3 separate regions of the Homo sapiens genome follow, and regions 1 and 3 are each linked to region 2. The links are contacts of gene promoters, found by promoter capture Hi-C in human tissues and cell types (Jung and others, 2019). All regions are on one chromosome and are shown on one strand. The core of a region is centred on a gene start or on the middle of the fragment in contact, and the rest is flanking DNA. Distances in the headings are between cores, read along the strand shown.

The links. The method cuts DNA at HindIII sites, captures the fragments that hold promoters and counts their contacts. A contact is called where the count stands out against the background at its distance.
Region 1: a contact is called between a fragment that was not itself captured here and the fragment with the promoter of KCNF1 in region 2, in 2 of the 25 tissues and cell types used here (IMR-90 fibroblasts and pancreas).
Region 3: a contact is called between a fragment that was not itself captured here and the fragment with the promoter of KCNF1 in region 2, in 4 of the 25 tissues and cell types used here (IMR-90 fibroblasts, mesendoderm cells, neural progenitor cells and 1 more).

The regions. Positions count from the first base shown.
Region 1 is chr2:11,100,573-11,104,407 of GRCh38, reverse strand. The region is part of intron 8 of FLJ33534 (Putative uncharacterized protein FLJ33534); the gene reads left to right. It also overlaps the pseudogene RPL6P4. Among named protein-coding and RNA genes, the nearest start is that of FLJ33534, 30 kb to the left of the region's middle. RefSeq lists enhancers at 270-419, 440-609, 620-699. The HindIII fragment of the contact is 9,721 bases long and covers 1-3,835 here.
Region 2 is chr2:10,909,883-10,913,528 of GRCh38, reverse strand. KCNF1 (potassium voltage-gated channel modifier subfamily F member 1) reads right to left here and starts at 1,595. Exons shown (of 1, transcript NM_002236.5): 1 at 1-1,595. The coding sequence starts at 1,102. The HindIII fragment of the contact is 13,350 bases long and covers 1-3,646 here.
Region 3 is chr2:11,044,508-11,048,276 of GRCh38, reverse strand. No RefSeq gene overlaps it. Among named protein-coding and RNA genes, the nearest start is that of FLJ33534, 86 kb to the left of the region's middle. The HindIII fragment of the contact is 4,621 bases long and covers 1-3,769 here.

The DNA.
Region 1 (3,835 bases), core at 305-2,804, 190 kb before region 2:
CAGATCTCAGCTCTGCACAGCCGAAACCAGCATTCAGATCTCAGGTCTGCACAGCCGAAACCAGCATTCAGATCTCATCTCTGCACAGCTGAAACTAGCATTCAGATCTCATCTCTGCACAGCCGAAACCAGCATTCAGGTCTCAGGTCTGCACAGCCGAAACCAGCATTCAGATATCATCTCTGCACAGCCGAAACCAGCATTCAGATCTCATCTCTGCACAGCCGAAACCAGCATTCAGATCTCAGGTCTGCACAACCAAAACCAGCGTTCAGATGTCAGCTCTGCACAACCACAACCAGCATTCAGATGTCAGCTCTGCACAACCACAACCAGCATTCAGATCTCAATTCTGCACAACTGTGATCACTATTGAGAGCAGTGACTGTTACATGGATTTAGAGACACGTTGTGGGGGTTATACGACCACGTATTACTGTGCAAAAAGACGTCACTCAAGCCCATTAGTGCAGAGGTTCCTTTAACTGTGGAGGATTAAATCAAGGAATCAGAGATTGTTTACGCCGGAAGGGACTTTGAGGTGTTCACTTAATTGGAAAGCAGGTCATCGTGGGCCCTCCATGGGTGTTGGTATCCACTGAAACTCCAAATCCCATCCAGGGGAGGCTGACACAGGCACCAGGTGTAAGGCCCCACCCCAGCCGGGCTCACCTCTGCGGGCAAGCCTGGGGCCTGGCCGGGAAGCCCAGCATGGTGCGTGTGAATGCTGTGGTGGGGGGGCGCCCCAAACTCCCCCTCCAAGACAGAGGCACAGGCATCGCCTCCCAGGACTCACCTGGAGGGGGCTGCCTGGCGTAAGCTCATGCTCCTCCCGTGCCACCTGCTTTAGTGGCTGATTGCTATGCCAGGTAACGTCAGGGCCACCTGCCTGATTCAGGCTGCTGTGCAGCCGCGCAGACTCAGAGCTGCCTGTGAGCCTGGCTGAGGCCTTTACTGCTCATTCCCACTGCCCTCACCCCTGGCGGGGGCTGGTCTCCAGGGCACCCCCATAATCCACTTGCACCCAGATCTCCGTCTCCAAGTGCGCTCCAAACCCAGCCCCAGCGTGTGGACAATGGCATCCTTCTTGCACATGCTGGGGTAATTGATGGCTGTATCTGCTCTGAGACGGCAGAGTGGGCTAGCTCCCAGCCCCAACAAACGGCCCTCTGCGCCCTCCACACACACTCAGCATAGGCTCAGCAGCCTGGGGAAGAAGAAAGCCGCTCTGCTCCGTGCTCTGGGTGCCCAGCCCTGTGAACAGCACGGGGTGTCCCCACGGCTCACTGTGCCTCCTCCTGGCCCATGTCCACTCCGGCATGCTGTTCACAGACACGGCCCAGGCCTCTGTCCCCACAGCTTTATTATTTTTTAAATGTTATCAGTTATTTAATTAGGTTCTTAAGAAATTTAGAACACCAATTTGTGAGGATAAATTCCATTCCTCAGAACAAACACAGATCTCAGGTAGCCCTGGAGCTAAGGAATAACTTTGATTTTTGGTAAAATCTGTGAGTCCACAGCTTTCTGATCAATCTTGCGCTGCCCTGTGATCTCGTATTTCTCTTTTTCTGTGTCGAAGATCTCACCTTCCTGGTGTCTGGGCTTCCGCAGCTGCTGCTTCTTGAAGCAAGCATCAGTGAGATGTTTTGGGATTTTTACATTGCTGATGTCAGTTTTGGTTGAGGTGGCAATGACAAATGTCTGGTGTGTTCTTCATAGAGGAACTCGATTGAGGACCAGAGGTCCAGTCCTAAATACCAAGCCGCTAGCCAGCTGCTTCAAGAAAACCACCCTCTTGCCTCTGTGGCATCCAGTGAAGATGATTAGAATGGCTTCGGGGGTAATGCTGGCTCACAGTTTTCTCACGTGCTGACTGAAAGTTTTTTTGCCGTGGCTCAACAGCTTTCGAGGCGCATCTCCGGTAGGGTAATATCTAGGCATTTTGTTAACCACCCAGGACCACCGTTCTTGTCACCACCAACTGGTTTGTAACAGTTGCAAGAACCTTCTCCTTTTTCTTTTCAACCTTGGACTTCGCAGCTAAGTACTTCCTCTTCCACGTGGCCTTTCTGGAATACATGGCAGGTTGGGAATACCTGCCAACTCCTCTGACAAGGACGGGATTGAGGCTGCAATGGGGCTTCCCCTTCTTGAGTTTTTCAGTCTTGAGGTGATGCCTTTTCACCTTGCCACCAGCATCAGCCTTCTTTGCTTCAGGTTTCTTCTCTTTAGTATCCGGCTTCTCAACTTTTTCACCTGCCATCTTGCAAGATGGGAAAGAGCTTTCCTACAGCTTTGCTTCCAAGGCAGGAGCTGAGCTTTCTTCTCTGCAAAGGGCCTTATAGAGAATGTTCTCTGGTCTTCTTTTCTTCCTTCTGCAAACTCTTCTCCAAGGGGCCAGATGCTGGAGATGATGGGACTGTCTTTTAATCTAGGGAGGGGTTATCATTAGCCTGTGGTGCTAATTACATGAATTCTTAAAGCCCACATGAGCACACTGCACCCAAGGTGCAAAGAGAATGCAGCCCCTTTGTTTCTACTGGCTAGCATTGTCTCTTGGGGATGCCACAGTCTCTTGACGGACACGTGGTCAGCACTGCAGACCTCCCTTCTTCCCCTCAGCCCCTGATCCTCTCTGAGTGGGGGTGGTACATGTGGTGGGGGAAGGAGAGCACCTGGTCTCTAGGCAGGTGGCTGTTCTGCCCTTGGGTGGGCCCTGGCTGCTGGAGGCTTAGGTGGTGGGTCTGTCTTGTCCTGCCCCTGGGCAGCCTGGTGGGCTGTTGCAGAAGCCTGTGGCTGCTATCATCTGTGGTCTGGGGAGCTCAGCCCTCCACCCTGGCTGATGATGTCCTGGCTGCTCTGGAGGTGCCCTGACGTCTGGTTGGAACTTCCATTTGATTCTTGGCTCAAACAGTCCCATTGACTGATTGCGCCCTTGGCTTCAGAGTCCCTTTACCCCCATGAAAATGACTTTCTCTGACAGGTCCCCATGCCTCAGCTAATAGGTACCTAGGGGTTCCTGCCATAACACATGGAGCTGGGCAGACCCTGAGTGTCACCTTGGGCTCTTTTTGAGTCTCTGTATTTACCCAGCTGCCCTGGCCTGGGTGGAAGTTGGGAGTCCCAGAGCCACTGGGGTGGGGCCCGCAGGCCGGGTGTTCTTGGAGTCCCCATGGGAATCAGGTCGAGGCAGGGCCCTGCTTTGACCTCTCCCCATGCTGCTTTATGACCCTCCTGGCTTGGAGAGCGTGGGCTCAGGGGGAGAGGGGACACCAAAGGTTGCTGCCTGTGCCACCTGCCTCTACCCCACACTTCCTCAGCACCACCTGGCGGGAAGGCTCCGAAGTCCTGTTTCCCCCAGGTGGCTGAGATATTCTCCACTCCACATCTTTCTCCTTTCAGGAGCAGGATCTTCCCCAACCCTGCCTTGAGGCCCAGATGACAGTCAGGGATCAGGTTTAGGGAACCATTAACACCCAGTGTGACGATTTCAGATCCTGCTCCCATGACCTCCACATCCCCTAGACTGGAAGCTTCCTGAGGACAGGGCCCTGCTGTCCTTTCTGTTACTGTACCCCCAGCACAGGCTGGCACCAAATGAAAACACAGACTTACACATTCTCCTAGAAAACTCCAGACAGCCCAGTAAGGCCTCTCTGGACCTCATCGGAGATGTGGGAAACACTCTTTGAGAAACACTGCTCCAGACTTTCCTGTGAGTCCCCGAATGATACTGATTTCACCTGCTGCTGTTATTTAGATGACTGCAATACACTAGATGATTTGGTTGTAAAACTTGGCACTCTCAAATAGAGGTCAAGTTCAGGAGTCA
Region 2 (3,646 bases), core at 346-2,845:
TGGTGATGATGGCCCACCAGAAGGACTGGGGGATGCTCTTAAACAGGGTCTCTGGATGGCTCTGCTCCATGGTGTAGCCCAGGGCAGAGAAGACGAAGATACCCACTGCCAGGTACATGAGCAGCAGCCCCAGTTCCTTGAAGCTGCGCTTGAGGGCATAGGTGAGGGTCTGCAGGCCCGAGGAGTGGCGGGCCAGCTTGAAGATGCGCGCGATGCGCATGATCCGCAGCGCCTGCACGGCCTGCTGCACGTTGGTCAGCTCCATCATGCGGGCACCCAGGTGCGTGAGCGTGAGGCTCACGTAGAAGGGGAGGATGGCCAGCACGTCCACAATGTTCATGAAGGACAGCGCGAAGTGCAGCTTGTTGGGTGACGAGAAGAGGCGCAGCAGGTACTCCAGGGTGAACCAGCCAATGCACGCCGTCTCCACGTTCTCCAGCGTCGGGTGCTCCACGCGGTTGCCCTCGGCGTCCAGCACCTGCAGCTCGGGGATGGTGCCCATGCACATGACCACGGACGAGACGAGGATGAGCAGGAAGGAGAGCACGGCCACCACCCGCGCCGGGCACGACGACTCGGGCTTCTCCAGGAACTTCCAGACGCACTTCTGGCAGCGGCGCCAGCGGCCCTCGGCTGCGTCCACGCCCAGGTCGTCCAGGATGAGCTGCACGCGGCGCGCGATCTCCTCCAGCTCCTCGCGCTTCTCGCTCAGGTGGCTCTTGCAACAGTCGTCCAGGAACTTGAGGTCCACCTTCCAGAAGTCCATCTCGTTCTTGAAGCAGATGGGGCAGATGCCCTTCTTCATGTGGACCTCCCCGAAATAGTACACCTCGATGACACACTTGAAGGCGTCCGGGTCCCTGTCAAAGTAGAACTCGCGCTTGCCGGGGTCGTAGTCGTCGCACAGGGAGAAGATGGTGTCGTAGCCCCCAGCCAAGCAGTTGATGAGCTCCGCCAGCCGGGTCTCAGGGTACTGACTGAGGAGGTCCCCGTACAGCACCTGCCGCACGCCCCCCACGTTGACGACTATCTCTATGTCGTCGCTGGCAGCGGAGCTCTGGCTGCCCGGCTCCGGGAGGCTGCGCTCCCCGGACCCGTCCATCCTCCCCGCGCGCGCCCTCGCAGCCTCCGCCCCGCGCCCCCTGCAGCCGCCGCCGCCGCTGCCGCTGGGGGTCCGGCGGGTGCCACCCGTGCGCTGATCTCGGGGAGAGCCTGGCCGGCGCCCGCCTGCGGGGAAGGGCGGTCACAGCGGGCAGCAGCCTGCGGGGGCGCGCCGCGGGGGAGGCATGCACCCGGCGGCGGGGCTCGGGGCTGGCATCCGGGCGCCCGGGCGAGCCCGCGGGGGCTTTGGCGGCCGCCGGCCTCGCCCGGGGCACTCACCCCGGCTGGCTGGCGGCGCGCTCCGCCGCTTCAGCTCGGCCTCCTGCGGGAGCGGGGTCTCCTCGTGGGCGGCTGGCACCGTCCTCCGCCCCGGGGCGCGCAGGCAGCGGCGGCAGGTCCCGGAGCTGGCGGACCCACGCCGTCCGCGAGGTGCTCGAGGTGTGCAGAGAGCGAACTTGGGCTGGCTTTGCCCGAGCCTTTTCTAAACACAATAGGAATTCCAGCCTGACGTCAGGAGCTTTTCAAACTGTACCCTCTTCTGGTGAAATTCTGCAAGGCACGCGCGGCAGCTGCAGGGGACGGATTAACCCTTGGGCAGACGGGCACAGCTGCCGCGCCCGCCGCCACCACCGCGCACCGCCGGCCCCTCCTCGGGCGCAGCGGGTCACCGAGGGGTTGCGACCTGGCTTGAAGCGGCAGGCATTCTCTCTCACTGCTGTTTGGAGAGGATTAGTGGGGAGAGAATGCTGCCGCCTGTTGCTGGGCAGGAAAATGTGCTCCAGGAAGCCCCTTAGAAGGTGACTCCTATGTCTGGGTCCCTCCTCCGGCCTTAGACCCGCGCCGGCTTTTCCTGGTGGGAGGAAAATCCTGCCTGATCCTTGAAGCGTTTCCTGCCCCATCCCCCCGACCCAGCAATGCCCTGCTGTGTTGGTGGCACTGTCTCACCTTCCCCGCAACGCTGTACAAGGAGGACATCTAGTCCAGCCTCCTGTAGAAGGGAAGGGACTTGCCCAAGGTCACGCGGCGGAATGAGAGCAGAGCTCAGCTTGACCGCCTCCTGATCCCGAGCTTTCCGGCTGTCCCAGCTGACCGACGCCTGCTGTTCAGCAGATTTCAATTCTGCCTTGAAGTCCCTGCCGTCTGGCACCTCCTATCTCTCTGCAGTCCCACACCAAGGCCACTAGCTTCCAGACCCCTAGGGTCCAGTGGCTCCTGCTTCCCCGTTCCTCACTCCTTGACCAAGGCCTGTCTCTTCCTGACCAGTGTCCCACACCCTCCTCTCTTCCAGCCTTTGCAGCCACAGCTGTCCTTCTGTCCTCACTCACCTGAACCACTACAGCAGCTTCCTAACAGTGTCTCTCTCCTCCGGTTCACCACTATCATCAATACTGCAAATTACTGATATCATCTATGGCCTCGAGATCGTGTTAAAAATATTCTGGAGGGAAGAATGAATAGGCAGAGCAGAGGATTTTTAGGGCAGTGAAACGTACCATAATGGCGGATATGTGTCGTTATGCAATGGTCAAAATCCATAGAATGTTCACCACCAGGAGCGAATGTTAATGCAAACTCGGTGCTGGGCGATGATGACGTGTCCATGTGGGGTGGTCCACCATGACAAGTGTCCCACCCTGTGTGAGATGTTGATGCGCAGGGGAGAGCTGTGGAGACAGGGGGCATGTGGGAATTCTCTGTACTTTCTGTTGAATTGTGCTCTAAAATATAAAGTCTATTTAAAAATGTATTCTGTAGGCTGGGTTTTTTAAAACTTAAGGACATGTCCGTTAATGGATTATGAAATCAATTTACTGGGTCACTGACAGTATTCTTTTTTCTTTAATGAGTTAGCATAAAACAGAATATATTAGAATACATCACATGAAGTATTATTTAGTGAAACTTCGTTTTACAAATTTTACTTCATTTCCATTTAGCATCAGACAATGACATGCTACTACAGAGTAGGAAATCGAGGCTCAGAAAGGTTGAGTAATAATAAGAGTTGCCACTTATTCTCCATGGGCATCGGAGTGCAGTCTCTGAGTGCTTTGCATTTTTGTCATTTAATTTCCCAGCAACCCCTAAGGAAACAAGATGTCAGGTAACCTGCCGAGATCACTCTGTGGAGCTGGGATTTAACCATTGTCCTGCTGGGTTCTGAGGCCTATTCTTCTCCCCAGTACAGTGCTACACACCACCTCCTACACACACCCCAGCTTCCTCTTCCAATCCTTATGCATGCTACTCCCCTTATCAGCTGTCCGAGTACCTGCAGGGTTAAGTTCAAATTGCATCCTAGTCTGAGCTTAATGGGCTTCTAAATACCCATTCATTCACTCAGTTATTCAAATATTTATCGAGCTCTTATGGCACATGTGTGCAAATGCACACACACACACATACACACACCACCCTAGGTGTGGGGACAGGGTTCATATTCTAGTAGATAATATGTTTTTTGTAAATAATAATTAACAGTTTGGGGTAATGACCTTAACAAGAGGGGTATATGTATTATACAAGAGTGGTGCTTCCTGAATTT
Region 3 (3,769 bases), core at 810-3,309, 130 kb before region 2:
ATTTTTACAACAACTCTGAGGTTCTCATATCCCCATTCACAGATGAGGAAACCGGAACTCAAAAAGCAAAATAGTTCATCCAAGGTGATGAGATCCTTCTAAGTCAGTGGCAGCTCTAGAATCTGGTCAGGTCTGCCTTTCTCCACGCCTCTGCTCTTGGCTACCATACTGTGACATCCCCCACAGCAATCATCATCAAAGAGCAGAACATGGAGCCATTATCAGTAATGTACACCTCAGTATGAATTAGTTTATTCGTATTAGCAATTCATATCTCTTTAGCACTTTACAATTTGCAAAGCACTTGGGTGTATACTATGCTGCTTGATGTTTATAACAGCCCTGCAAAGTAGGTATCATCACCCCCAGTTTTACAAGGGGAGAAATTGGTGTTCAGATGTTTGCTCAATGTCATCTAGTTAGTGAATGGTGGGATAGTAGATTGTACGCAGTCAGGCCTCCCAGTTGTCAAGTCCATTTCTATCCACCACCACAAGCAAACTTCCTGAGCACCTAGCTGAGAGCAGGGCATTGAGGGAACAACAGCGTGAAGATATATATATACACACACGCACACGTGTATATACATATGCATACATACATATATACGAATATGTATAATTAAAGTAAAAAGATAATTTTTTTTTTTTAGACAGAGTCTCACTCTGTCACCCAGGCTGGAGTGCAGTGGCACGATCTCAGCTTACTGCAACCTACAGCTCCCAGGTTCAAGTGATTCTCCTGCCTCTGCCTCCCGAGTAGCTGGGATTACAGGCACCTGCCACCCTACCCAGCTCTTATATATATATATATATATATATACATATATATATTTTCTGTATATATATATATATACATACATATATATATTTTCTGTATATATATATACAAACACACATATATATTTCCTGTATATATATATACATACATATATATCTTTTCTGTATATATATATATACACATACATATATATATATATATATTTTTTTTTTCTGTATTTTTAGTAGAGACAGGGTTTCACCATCCTGGCCAGGCTGGTTTCAAACTCTTGACCTCAAGTGATCCGTCTACCTCGGCCTCTCAAAGTGCTAGGATTACAGGCATGAGCCACCACTCTTGGCCTTAAAGCAAATTTTTAAACTAAAGAGAAACCAAATAAAAAAACTGAATGTAGTTTTACCCTAAAACTCAAAAAACTTTTTAAAAACATAAAAAAAATCTTTAAAAAAGAGCACAATTTAAGATTAAGTTTGGATCAGTACCGTGACACCAGTCTGAATAGGACTAGAATAGCTACTGAAAGCACAAATTGGATTTGTCCTGTGCTCAGCTGACTCTGAGCTTTGCGTCCACTTTTCTTTCAATATGGAACACTCCTCTTTTCCACCTTATCTGTCAAAACAGAGCTCATGCTTCCAGACCAAGTGCAAACATCACTCCCATCATATTGCCTGTCTTAATCTGCCAGCAAGAAGGGAATTCTCCCTCAGAGTTTCTGAGCACTTTGTTTTCAAGGCTAAAATTGATTTAACTTTATAATCATTTTCACTTTTTACTTTAAGTTCACAGAATGTACAAAACCTTAAAATACAACTTATAAAAGTTGTTGGCCAGGCACAGTGACTCACAACTGTAATCCCAGCATTTTGGGAGGCCGAGGCCAGAGGATTGCTTGAGCCCAGGAGTTTGAGACCAGCCTGGGCAACATGGTGGCACCCTGTCTCTACAAAAAATGCAAAAATTAGCTGGATGTGGTCGTGCATGCCTGTATTCCCAGCTACTGAGGAGGCTGAGGTGGGAGGATCACTTGAGCCCAGGAGGTCTGAGGCTGCAGTGAGCCTTGAGCCTGCCACTGCACTCCAGCCTGGGTGACAGCCAGACACCGTGTCCAAAAAAAGTTACCAAATAAGTTGAAACAACACTAACAAATTCTGCATATCACAGCATATTCAATGTCTCTTTAGATAAATGCTAAATTTGATAAGTTTTATCACACACATATTTTATGAATACTGTATCTTTTAGTTAAAAGCTTTGTTTTGAGATAATTGTAGGCTTACAAGCCATTCCAAGAAATAACACAGAGAGCTCCAATGTTCCTTTTATCCATTTCCCACTGATAATGACATCTTACAGAACTATGGCACAGTATCCCAACCAGGATATTGACATTGGTACAATACACCCATACACCCAGCTTATTCCGATTCCTCATTTTTCCTTGCACCCATTAGTGTGTGTGTTTATGTAGTTCTGTGCAGCCTTAAGGACATGGGTAGGTTCACATCTCCCCCACAACAATCAAGCACAGAACAGTTACATCTCCGCAAGGATCCCTCCTGTTGCCCTTTTACAACCATGGCCGCCTCCCCCCAGCCTCCCTTCCCTAACCCGTGGTGATCACCAATATGTTTTTCATTCTATAGTTTTGTTGTTTCAAGGATGTTATATAATGGAGTCAGACAGTGTGTGACCTTTTGGGATTAGCTTTTTCATCTGAGCTTTTCGTAGAACTGCAATCATTATGTTTGAGTACTGCTTCTACCACTTGCTCAAGTTACTTAAACATCGTGTTCCTCAGTTTCCTCGCCTATAAAGTGCAGAAGATAATGTCTATTTGATAAGACTTATCTGTAACTTGGCCTACTGTTGGCTGCAAGGCGATTGTGGTTGTTCACTTGACCCATTTGTGATGCTGGACTGTGAGCTTCTTGTAGGCCTCGGCTACAGATGCTCCTGGAAGACGCTGACCATTGCTGTCTTCTAGATCAGAGGCTCCCAACCCCTGAGCCACAGAACGGTCCTGGTCTGTGGCCTGTTAGGAACTGGGCCACACAGCAGGAGGTGAGTGACGGGTGAGGGAGTGAGGCTTCATTTGTATTTATAGCTGCTCCCCATTGCTCAAATCATTGCCTGAGCTTCACCTCCTGTCAAATCAGCGGTGGCATTAGATTCTCATAGGAGTGTGAACACTATTGTGAACTGCCCATATGAGGGATCTAGACTGTGAGATCCTAATGAGAATCTAATGCCTGATGATCTGTCACTGTTTTCTGTCACCCCCAGATGGGACTGTCTAGTTGCAGGAAAACAAACACAGGGATCCCTCTGATTCTACCTTATGGTGAGTTCTGTAATTACTTCATTATATATTATTAGGTAATAATACTAGAAATAAAGTGCACAATACATGTAATGTGTTTGATTCATCCTGAAGCCACTCCCCATCCCCGGTCCATGGAAAAATTGTCTTCCACGAAACCAGTTCCTGGTGCCAAAAATGGTGGGGACTGCTGCCCTAGATCATCTTTGTGGGATGCCAGGGGTTAGGTTGGCCTGGAAAAGACCCTTTCAACTGAGAAGTTGCTGTTCACTCTCAGTGGGAGAAGAGAACAGGCACTGGAAGGAGGTGGCACACTGGCACATATATGTGTCAGTGTCACGGTAGGATCTGGAGTCAGAGAGAAGGCTCCTGGAAATACAAGAACGGAGAATTCGCTTTTTTGCCAATTTAATGCTGGGAACGCCCACCTAGAGAGGAATCCTGAAAATGCCCATCAAGAGAGGTATATTATTCCATTCTCACATTGCTATAAAGAAATACTGCAATTGGGTAACTTATTAAGAAAAGAGGTAGAATTCATGGTCCTGCAGACTGTGCAGGAAGCATAGTGGCTTCTGCTTCTGGGGGAGGCCTCAGGAAACTTACAGTCATGGTGGAAAGCTAAGGGGAAACAGGAACATCTCACACAGCTGGAGCAGGAGGAAG